Linked DNA regions of Homo sapiens: regions 1 and 2 are each linked to region 3. Evidence: promoter capture Hi-C in 16 types of primary human blood cells and fetal thymus (Javierre and others, 2016). All regions are on one chromosome and are shown on one strand. Each heading gives the region's core, a stretch centred on a gene start or on the middle of the fragment in contact. The rest is flanking DNA. Distances are from core to core; before and after follow the strand shown. Region 1 has its middle 32 kb from the start of TRIM62. Region 2 overlaps ZNF362 (zinc finger protein 362). Region 3 holds the start of PHC2 (polyhomeotic homolog 2).

Evidence for each region. The method cuts DNA at HindIII sites, captures the fragments that hold promoters and counts their contacts. A CHiCAGO score of 5 or more calls a contact.
Region 1: a contact is called between a fragment that was not itself captured here and the fragment with the promoter of PHC2 in region 3, in 1 of 17 cell types (megakaryocytes). The highest score is 6.9, in megakaryocytes.
Region 2: a fragment that was not itself captured here is called in contact with the fragment with the promoter of PHC2 in region 3 in 11 of 17 cell types (naive B cells, M0 macrophages, monocytes and 8 more); the score reaches 9.6 in naive B cells.

Annotation. Positions count from the first base shown.
Region 1 is chr1:33,212,059-33,215,069 of GRCh38, forward strand. It overlaps a transcript of ZNF362 not described here. Among named protein-coding and RNA genes, the nearest start is that of TRIM62, 32 kb to the left of the region's middle. RefSeq lists a silencer at 23-82. The HindIII fragment of the contact is 3,112 bases long and covers 182-3,011 here.
Region 2 is chr1:33,295,968-33,299,185 of GRCh38, forward strand. ZNF362 (zinc finger protein 362) reads left to right here. Exons shown (of 9, transcript NM_152493.3): 9 at 2,963-3,218. The coding sequence ends at 3,079. Among named protein-coding and RNA genes, the nearest start is that of A3GALT2, 24 kb to the right of the region's middle. RefSeq lists a silencer at 2,804-2,984. The HindIII fragment of the contact is 2,524 bases long and covers 685-3,208 here.
Region 3 is chr1:33,429,288-33,432,373 of GRCh38, forward strand. PHC2 (polyhomeotic homolog 2) reads right to left here and starts at 1,808. Exons shown (of 15, transcript NM_001385109.1): 1 at 1,689-1,808. RefSeq lists a silencer at 1,492-2,011. The HindIII fragment of the contact is 9,079 bases long and covers 693-3,086 here.

The sequences.
Region 1 (3,011 bases), core at 488-2,987, 220 kb before region 3:
CTCCCTTGGAGCTGTCATTACGATAGTGAATTCTCATGAGATCTGGTTGTTAAAAAGTGTGTAGCACCGCCGCCTTCTCTCTGTTCCTCCTGCTTCAACCATGTAAGACATGCCTGCTTCCCCTTCACCTTCCACTATGAGTCAAAGCTCCCTGAGGCCTCCCCAGAAGCAGATGCAGCCAAGCTTCCTATACAGCTTGCAGTACTGTGAGCCACTTAAACCTCTTTTCTTTATAAATTATCCAGTCCCAGGTATTTCTTCATAGCAGTGTGAGAATGACTAGTATGATAGCCATTTTGGAAAACAGTTTGGCAGTTTCTCAATAATTTACCTAGGTATCTCTAACGTATATTGAGCCATTCCACTTCTAGGTACCTATATTAGGCTATTGGTGTGTTGCTGTAAAGAAGTACCCAAGACTGGATAGTTTATAAAGAAAAGTGGTTTAATTGAGTCACAGTACTGCAGGCTGTACAGGAAGCATGGCGCTAGGCATCTGCTTGGCTTCTGGTGAGGCCTCAGGAAACTTACAATCATGGCAGAAGACAAAGGGGAAGCTGGCCTATCACATGGCAAGAGCAGGAGTAAGACAGAGAGGTGGTGGGGTGCAGTGGGGAGGTGCCACACACTTTTAAACAACCAGATCTTGTGTGAACTCATTCATCACCAAGGGAATGGCACTAAGCCATTCATGAGGGATACTCCCCCATGATCCAAACATCTCTGACCTTCAGGCCTCACCTCCAACACTGGGAATTACATTTTAACATGAGATTTGGAGAAGACAGCCGAACTATATGAGAAATGAAAGCGTACGTGCATGCAAAGATTTGTACACAAATGTTTATTGCTGCCTTATTTATAATAGTCACAATTTATTTAGAAGTAACCCTAATGTCCCAAATCCATGGATGAATGAATAAACTAAATGTGGCACATCCATACAATGGAAATGCTCCTTGGCAATAAAAAGGATAAATTTTATATGTGCAATAGCATGGCTGAATCTCAAAATAATTGTGCTGAGTGAAAGAAGATGGACAAAAAGAGTATGTATGTATTATACTATTCATATAAATTTTTAGAATTTTGTTTTGTTTTGTTTTAGATGGAGTCTCACTCTGTTGCCCAGGCTGGAGTGCAGTGGTGCGATCTTGGCTCCTGACCTCAGGTGACCCACCCACCTCAGCCTCCTAAAGTGCTGAGATTACAGGCATGAGCCACTACGCCCAGCCTGAAGTTCATTTTCTTAATCACGGCGATGATTTCACAGATGCATACATATATACATAACAACCTCTCAAAATTGTTCACTTTAAGTATGGGCAGTTTATTGTTTGTCAATTGTATTTCAATAAATCAGTTAGAAAAAATCCCAGAAGAAGGGTGGGAAGCAGTAAAGTGAACAAAGAAGCTGGTAAATGTGTTGGTGAATTTAAATAAGTATTGATTACTATAGTAATAATAATAATAATTACTATTTTGGGGGTTTTAAAACAAGATTGAGGCCAGGCGTGTTGGCTCACGCCTGTAATCCAAGCACTTTGGGAGGCCGAGGCGGGTGGATCACGATGTCAAGAGATCGAGACCATCCTGGCCAACATGGTGAAACCCCATCTCTACTAAAAATATAAAAATTAACTGGGCGTGGTGGCATGTGCCTGTAGTCCCAGCTACTTGGGAGGCTGAGGCAGGAGAATCGCTTGAACCCGGGAGGCAAAGGTTGCAGTGAACTGAGATCACGCCACTGCACTCCAGCCTGGCAACAGACAGAAACTCTGTCTCAAAAAAACCAAAGCAAACCAAAACAAAACAAAACAAAAAAAACAAAACAACAACAACAACAAAAAACAAGATTGAACGAAAACACCTGATTTTGTATTGGTTTGGAAAAGTCTAGGGATTTTACTGAGTTCTAGATTTTAAGAGTGCATGATGTATACTTAACTTCATGCTAGTTCAGGGAAAAAAAGAATAGAATTAAAAAGAAATCAATCCAATTAAAAATGTGAAATAAGAAAAAAGAAGCAAATAAAAAGCATGTAAATTGAAAGACACAAAATAAGATAGAAGCTGAAGCCATGGGAAAACATACAGGAATAGCTGAATGCACACCCCTAAAAATTCCTATGGGACATCTACAGTGAACTCATTTTTCACAAAGGTGCTAAGAACATTCACTGGGGAAAGGAAAGTCTCTTCAATATTTGGAGCTAGGAAAACAGGATCTCCATATGCAGAAGAATGAAAGTAGACCCCTATCTCTTGCCATATACAATAATCAAGTAAGAATGGATTAAAGACTTAAATCTAAGACCCCAACTGTGAAACTACTAAAAGGAAACATTGGGAAAACTCTCTAGGACATTGGTCTGGGCAAAGATTTCTCAAATAATACCTCAAAGGCACAGACAACCAAAGCAAAAACGGACAAATGAGATCACATCCAGCTAAAAATCTTCTGCACAGCAAAGGAAACAATCAGCAAAGTAAAGAGACAACTCACACAATGAAAGGCAATATTTGCAAACTACCCATCTGAAAGGGATTAACAACCAGAATATATAAGGAGCTCAGACAACTTGATCAGAAAAAATGAAGTAATTGGATTAAAAAGTGGGCAAAAGATCCAAATAGATATTTCTCCAAAGAAGACCTACAAATGATTGATAGGTGTTTGAAAAAAATGCTCAACATTATTAATCATCAGAGAAATGCAAATGAAAACTACAATGAGATATCATCTCACCCCAGTTAAAATGGCTTTCACTCAAAAGACAGGCAATAACAAATACTGGTGAGGATATGGTGAAAGGGGAACCCTCGTACACTGTTGGGAGTGTAAATTAGTATAGTCACTATGGAGAGTAGTTTGAAGGTTCCTCAAAAAAACTAAAGATAGAACTACCATATGATCTAGCAATTCCACTAGTAGGTATACATCCAAATAAAGGAAAGTAGTGTATTGATTAGATATCTGCGCTCCCATGTTTATTGCAGCACTGTGCACA
Region 2 (3,218 bases), core at 697-3,196, 130 kb before region 3:
TGAGCTAGTACCATTATTTATTCACTCAGTCTTTACTAAACACTTCTGCCTGGTGCTCGGGCATTGGGATGAGCCAGACAGATCTATTTTTTGTCCCCAGGGAAATTAAGAACTGTTGGAGACAAGTATTAAACAAGTACACACGTAACTGTTTGACGGGAAATTGTGTAGCTGCTGTAAAGCAGAGACTCTCGGCCCTAGTCCAGATGGACATTTGGGCCGGACCTTTCCACTGTGGGCGCTGGCCTGCACGTGGCAGGGCTCTGAGCAGCATTCCAGGCCTCCATCCGCTAGATGCCAGTAGCAACCGCTCCCCAAGTGGTGACAGCCAAAAAATGTCTTCAGGGATGACACAGAGGGGCTGAGCTGCAGGGCCATGCCGTCCTGCATTCTGGAGTCCTGCATCCTGGGGGACAGCATGGCCCTGAAGCTCTGTCCCTCTGTGTCCTCCCTGGGAGCTCCTTTTGTCCCTGCCACTCCTGGGTTCTCATCCTGGCTCTTTGTCCCTGGGGGGCAAAATCACCTCAATTGAGAACCACTGTGATAAAAGTGTGTTTTGAAAGACAGCAGGGAGGACACAATGGAGCTGGGAAGGGGGATGAGTCCAGATTGACCACCTGGAGGAGCAACACTTAGGTGAAGCCTTGAAGGATAATTGGATGAGGAGGAGAAAGAGGGGAAAGAAGCTTCCATGCAGGCGAACACTGAGTGCGAACCCCCTGAGGGGTAACAAACTTGGCACGTTACAAGAACTCAAAGGAAATTAGGTCAGTTGGGGCCTTGGGGCTCTGTTAGAAAAGTTTGGATATTTTTTCAGGTGGAATGGGAAGCTACAGGGAGGGGACTGTCAGGAAGGGTTTTTTTTTTTTTTTTTTGGTATATTTTAGAGACGGGGTCTTGCTATGTTGCCCAGGCTGGAATCAAAATCCTGGGCTCAAGGGATCCTCCTGCTTCAACCTCCAGAGTAGCTGGGGCTACAGGTGTGCACCACTGTGCCTGGCAGGGAAGGTATTTTTGCAAGGTCACTCTGGCTGGAGGCTGTTCATGGATCATAGGTGGGGTTGTTGGCAGTACTTGTCAGGTGCCGGGCAGGGCTGCCACTTGCTAAGTGCTGAGTCTGTAACATTTATTCTTCCCTGGAGTTCAAAGGGCAGAGGAGGGTCAGGAGGCGAAGAGGACAGAATCTGCAGGGAAAAGGGCTCCAAAGGGGTGAGCAGGAGCCCTCGCTTGGCTAGCTGATCTCCAGTCAGTCCCTGCCTCTCTCCAAGGCTCAAGTTTTCCATAACCTCCTACACCATCAACCAATCCTGCCTCATCCATACTCCTATTTTTTGAAGTACAATCCAGACATCATACTATTTCTAAAAATTGCACTTTATCTCTCTGATAAAGACTCCTTTTTTGAGCATATCCACAATACCTTTGGAATATCAAAAAGTAATTAACCAAAGTCCTTATCATCATCAGATACTCAAATACCCGTTCAGCATTGACATTTTCATTTGTGTCACGAATGCCATGATTTGGTGTATTTACATGATTCCTCTTTTTTTTTTTTTTTTTGAGACGGAGTCTTGCTCTGTCACCCAGGTGGAGTGCAGTGGCACAGTCTCAGCTCACTGCAACATCCGCCTCCCAGGTTCAAGCGATTCTCCTGCCTCAGCCTCCCGAGTAGCTGGGAATACAGGCATGTGCCACTATGGCCACCTAATGTTTTTGTATCTTTAGTAGAGACGGGGTTTCACCATGTTGGCCAGGCTGGTCTCGAATTCCTGACCGCAGGTGATCCGCCCGCCTCAGTCTCCCAAAGTGCTGGGATTATAGGCATGAGCCACCGTGCCCAGCCTACATTATTCTTTTTAGATCAAGATCCAAATAAGATTCCTGCATCGTAGTAGCTCAGTAGATCTTTTAATCTCTAGGTCCCCTTACCCCCACTTTTTTTCTTTGTTATTTATTCACTGAAGAATAGTTTCCTAGCTAGGAATTTGCAGGTTGCTTCCCTCTGGTATTGGATAGCATGTTGCCGCCACATTTGAGGGCTTCCTCTGCTGGGTTCTGAGCATATTGAGGTCTGAAGTCAAGGAGTGGCAGGTGGGAGTACCGCCTCTGCTTCTGGCAAAGGCGATTGGAAGGATGTGGCTTAGTGTGAGGGCTTCTGGGCCTGCAGTGAGCCCTGGGTCACAACCTCACCTACCCAGTCCTGGTGCCTCAGGTCAGATCCAGCAGAGCCAGTGGAGGACATGATAGTACCCACCTGTAGTCCCAGCTACTTGGAGGGCTGAGGTGGGAGAACTGCTTGAGCCCAGGAGGTTGAGGCTGTGGTGAGCTGTGATTGTGCCACAGCATTCCAGCCTGGGCGACACAGTGAGACCTTAAGAAAAGGAAGGAAAGGAAATGTAGAGACTGGGGCAGGAGTGGACCCTTCAACCCTTACTCCATGCTAAGGGCTTGATCTTTGTCACCACAGCAACCTGTTGAGGTTGTTCCTCCCCTATGCCTGCTTACAGAGGAGGAAACTGAGGCTCAGAGAGACAAGATGACTTGTCCAAGTTCTCACCACTAAGAAAGAGCAGAGCTAGGCTCAGACCCAGTCCTGCTGCCTCACTGTCACTGGGATCACCAGCCAGATGCAGGCACAGTGCTTCACCTGGCAGACAGGGCTGAGGTTCAGCCAGTATACCCAGCTACATCCAGGTGGCAAGGGCCTGGGGGCCTGGCCCTGGAGAGCCACAGGTGGGCATTGCTGAGGGGTGAGCTCTCCAGCCAGCACTCATACTGGCAGCAGTGCAGTGTCTCTAGAACCAATGGCCGACGCCCATCTGACCCTGCAAAACTGTGGCTGTCCTCCACCCTCTGAACCGCCTACCAAGAGCCCTCCAGTGGCTGCTGGTGGGAACTGCAGCCTCTTCTCCCTCCCTTGCTGGTGGTTCCCTGTTCTGAATCTCATCCCTGCCCACAGGAGACCTACCTGATGAAGCACATGTCCAAACACACGGTGGTGGAGCACCTGGTGAGCCATCACTCGCCCCAGAGGACGGAGTCCCCCGGCATCCCGGTGCGAATCTCTCTCATCTGAGCCCACTGGAGGCGCCGCCCCACCCGGCCCACTGGCAGACACAGACCCAGGCAGCACCAGGCCCCAGCTCCCTCCGGGGGCCCTCCAGGAACCACCAAGCTCTCTCACGACCTTCCCAATCTTCCAGAAAGCTTGGTCC
Region 3 (3,086 bases), core at 558-3,057:
AAATATCACTGGACAACTGTGCTGGGAATAAGAAATTCTAGGCTACTTTTAGAAAGTTACATTACAGAGGAAGGAAAAAAAGCCATAGTTACAATAGAAAGCCATTCCCTAGAGATAACATATTCTTTATGTGGCTGCATTCGCTGTTCCCCCGCTTTGGCTGCCTTTTCAGTCCTTTCCAATTTTCTCTGCAAGGTAAACTCCTATTTATCCTTCAACACCTTGCTTAAATGTGTTCTCTGGAAAGCCTTCCCTGGTCCTCTCAGACAGCTAATTGTTCCCTCCTCTGTGCTTCCAAAGCCCTTTGCATTCACATCTATTATGCTGTTAATCACTTTTACTAGCAATTTCATTTGTTTCTCCTACCACTTCTTTCAGGACAAGGACTAATTATCTTATTCATCTTTGCATCCCCAAGACATAGCAGAGTGCCTGGCATATGCCAAGTATTTGTTGTTGGGTGATAAAAGACATCAAGAGCAACGTGGAAGTGGAATTTGCACTTCACTTGCAAAATCAAATTGGTTTCTGGTACTTTTCAATTGTAACCGCATTTTCTCTTGATTTAGAAGGAACGACTTTAGACTCACAAAAGAAACTCTATTGATATCACGGGCGCATTAGCCGATTTTTCATCCCCACTGGTGATAGAAATATTTTTTACCCCACACTTCCAAGAAACTCCCAGGGCAAGCTTAGTATCAGTGGCGCATCTCTCCTCCTACCATTTCTATTGTCGCAAAAGCTAAATTACACTGTGAGCCTAAAGCTGCCACCAGTCTTAGTGAATTGGGGGAGGGGGATAATTACAAGAAGACACTTCTGTAGCAGACCTGGGGAGGGGGGAAGATGAATTTAAACCTCGCCTTATAAGAAATTTGTTAGACACTCACGTAGAACAGCCGCTTCCTCCGTGTATGACAGACCCGATCCAGGTGTCCAGCAGCGACCTTTTCCCATGGGTGTCAGGTCATCACTCAGCACAGAAAACAAGGGACCAGCGCCTTTCTAGGGCATCCCTCCTTCTCCAACCTTGGGGCCCGCTTTTCCTTTAGACGACTGTTCTCTCCTCCCAGTTCCAGCAACCCCCGGTTCCCTCTGCTGGTGCCCCCCACGCCACGCTTGACTCTGGGCCGAAAGTGCCAGCGGCTGCGCTGTCACGCCGCGGCTGGGGAGCGGGCGCCCCGGTCAGGCCCGACGCCCGGGTCTCACCGCACTCTGCGGGACAAGCGGAGCAGGCGCAGGCCGCGCAAGACCACGGGCTGCCGCGGCGCGGGCCTCTCCGCAGGAGGGGGGTCGGTCCCCGGAGAAAGCGAGTCACTGACGGGACCTTGGCCCGTTCCCGTTCCGGTTCCCGTTCCCGGCAAGCCTCGGCCCCAGGCTCTCCGCAGCCCTCCTCGCTGCGCGTTCCCGGCCCGGGGGCGCCGCGCTCTGCCGGTCGCCGGCCGGGACTGCGGGCTCCCAGCGCGGGCCCCACGCCGCGGACCAGGGGTCAGGCCGCCTGCCGCCCGCCTGTCCGTGCCCATGGCAATGCCCCGCCCCGCGCGGCCCGTCCCGGCCGAGCGCTCCGGCCCGACCGTGACAGCTGGGTGCCCAAAGGGTTAAGCCGGCAGCGCGGCGGCCGGTGTCCCCCGCGCGCTGCCCGTCAGCCGCGAGCTGGCCCCAGCGCGCACGCGCCCGCCCGTTACCTGCGGTCGCCTCCGCGCTCCTCCTCCACCTGGCCGCTCTCTCCCGGGGGCCGCCCCTCAGCCCGCCCCCTCGGCTCGGCGCCGCGCACCCTGCTGGCTGCTCGGACGCTGCCCGCGGAGGAGGGGCGAGGGCGCTATTACCATATATTAGCATACCAGCGCGCGTCACGTGGCCGCTCCAGCCAATGGTCACCCTAGAAGGGCGGGGATTGGGCGGAACACGCCTTAGTGCTGCTCCCAGCCTGAACCGGTGGCCATGGCAACGGGCGGGTGGGCGGGGGAGTGGGGAGGTGCCGGAGCCCGGTGCCCCCGGGAGCATCTCCTCTACCTGAGCGCCACATGGCGACCACGCGCAGTTTTCCCACCTTGCGGATGGAGAGATTTGTCTCAGCCAGAGAGATCCAGATTCAGCCAACATTTATTGAGCACTTACCACGTGCCTTAACACTTTGCTGCAGAAAGTGATGTCTGTCCTATTAACCCCACTAGATAGTAGGGAAAGTGGAGGCTCAGAGAGGTTAGATCATTCGCTCAAGATCATACAACAACATTAAATGGCAAAAGTGGAGATCTAAGATCATTTTTGACTTCAGACCCGGGACAATCGCCAGTTTTTTCAAATCCAGCAGGGGTCTCCTAGCACCTCCTCACAATTTCAGGTGTGCTGTGCAGTTGAGAAAATCCTTGTACATAATTTGTACAGCGTTTTACTGTTTCCTTACAGTGACCTTTGAGATTAATAGGCAGAATAGTTATGCCTGTATTACAAAGGAGAGAAAATGAGGCTCAGAGAGGCCATGTGACATAATTTAGGTCAAACAGCTATTAAGAGCTAATGCTGAGTTACACTGATTTATACTGAAGCTCATTACTTTAGAAACTTTTAAATTCAGTCTTCTCAACATGGTGGAATTACTGTGACCATTCTATGGATTAAGAAACCGAGACTTTGGGAAGTTAAGCAAATTGCCCAACGTTATACAGCTAGTAAGTAGCAGATTTAGGGTTCAAATCCAGGTTTATCTGGCCCCCAAAGCTAGTCTCATTGTATCAGATTTATTTAATTTAGGATTGGACTTAGAATCCCTTCTCTAATAGAATTTTGTCTCCTCTCAAGATATGATGGTGTTACGTCTTAATCCCACAGCAAATATACCTTGTGACAAGTGACATGTGTTAAGGTCACAGAGGCTATATATTAAGAGAATAGAGTCACCAGGTAGGTAAGGGGCACTGTAGAATTCTCTGTCTTTCCTTTGTTTTTTGTTTTTTTTTGTTTGTCTGTTTTTTGTTTTTTGTTTTTTTTGAGTCCGATCTCGCTCTTGTCACCCAGACTGGAGTGCAATGGTGCGATCTTGGCTCACTGCAACCTCTGCCTGCTGGATTCAAGCTATTCTC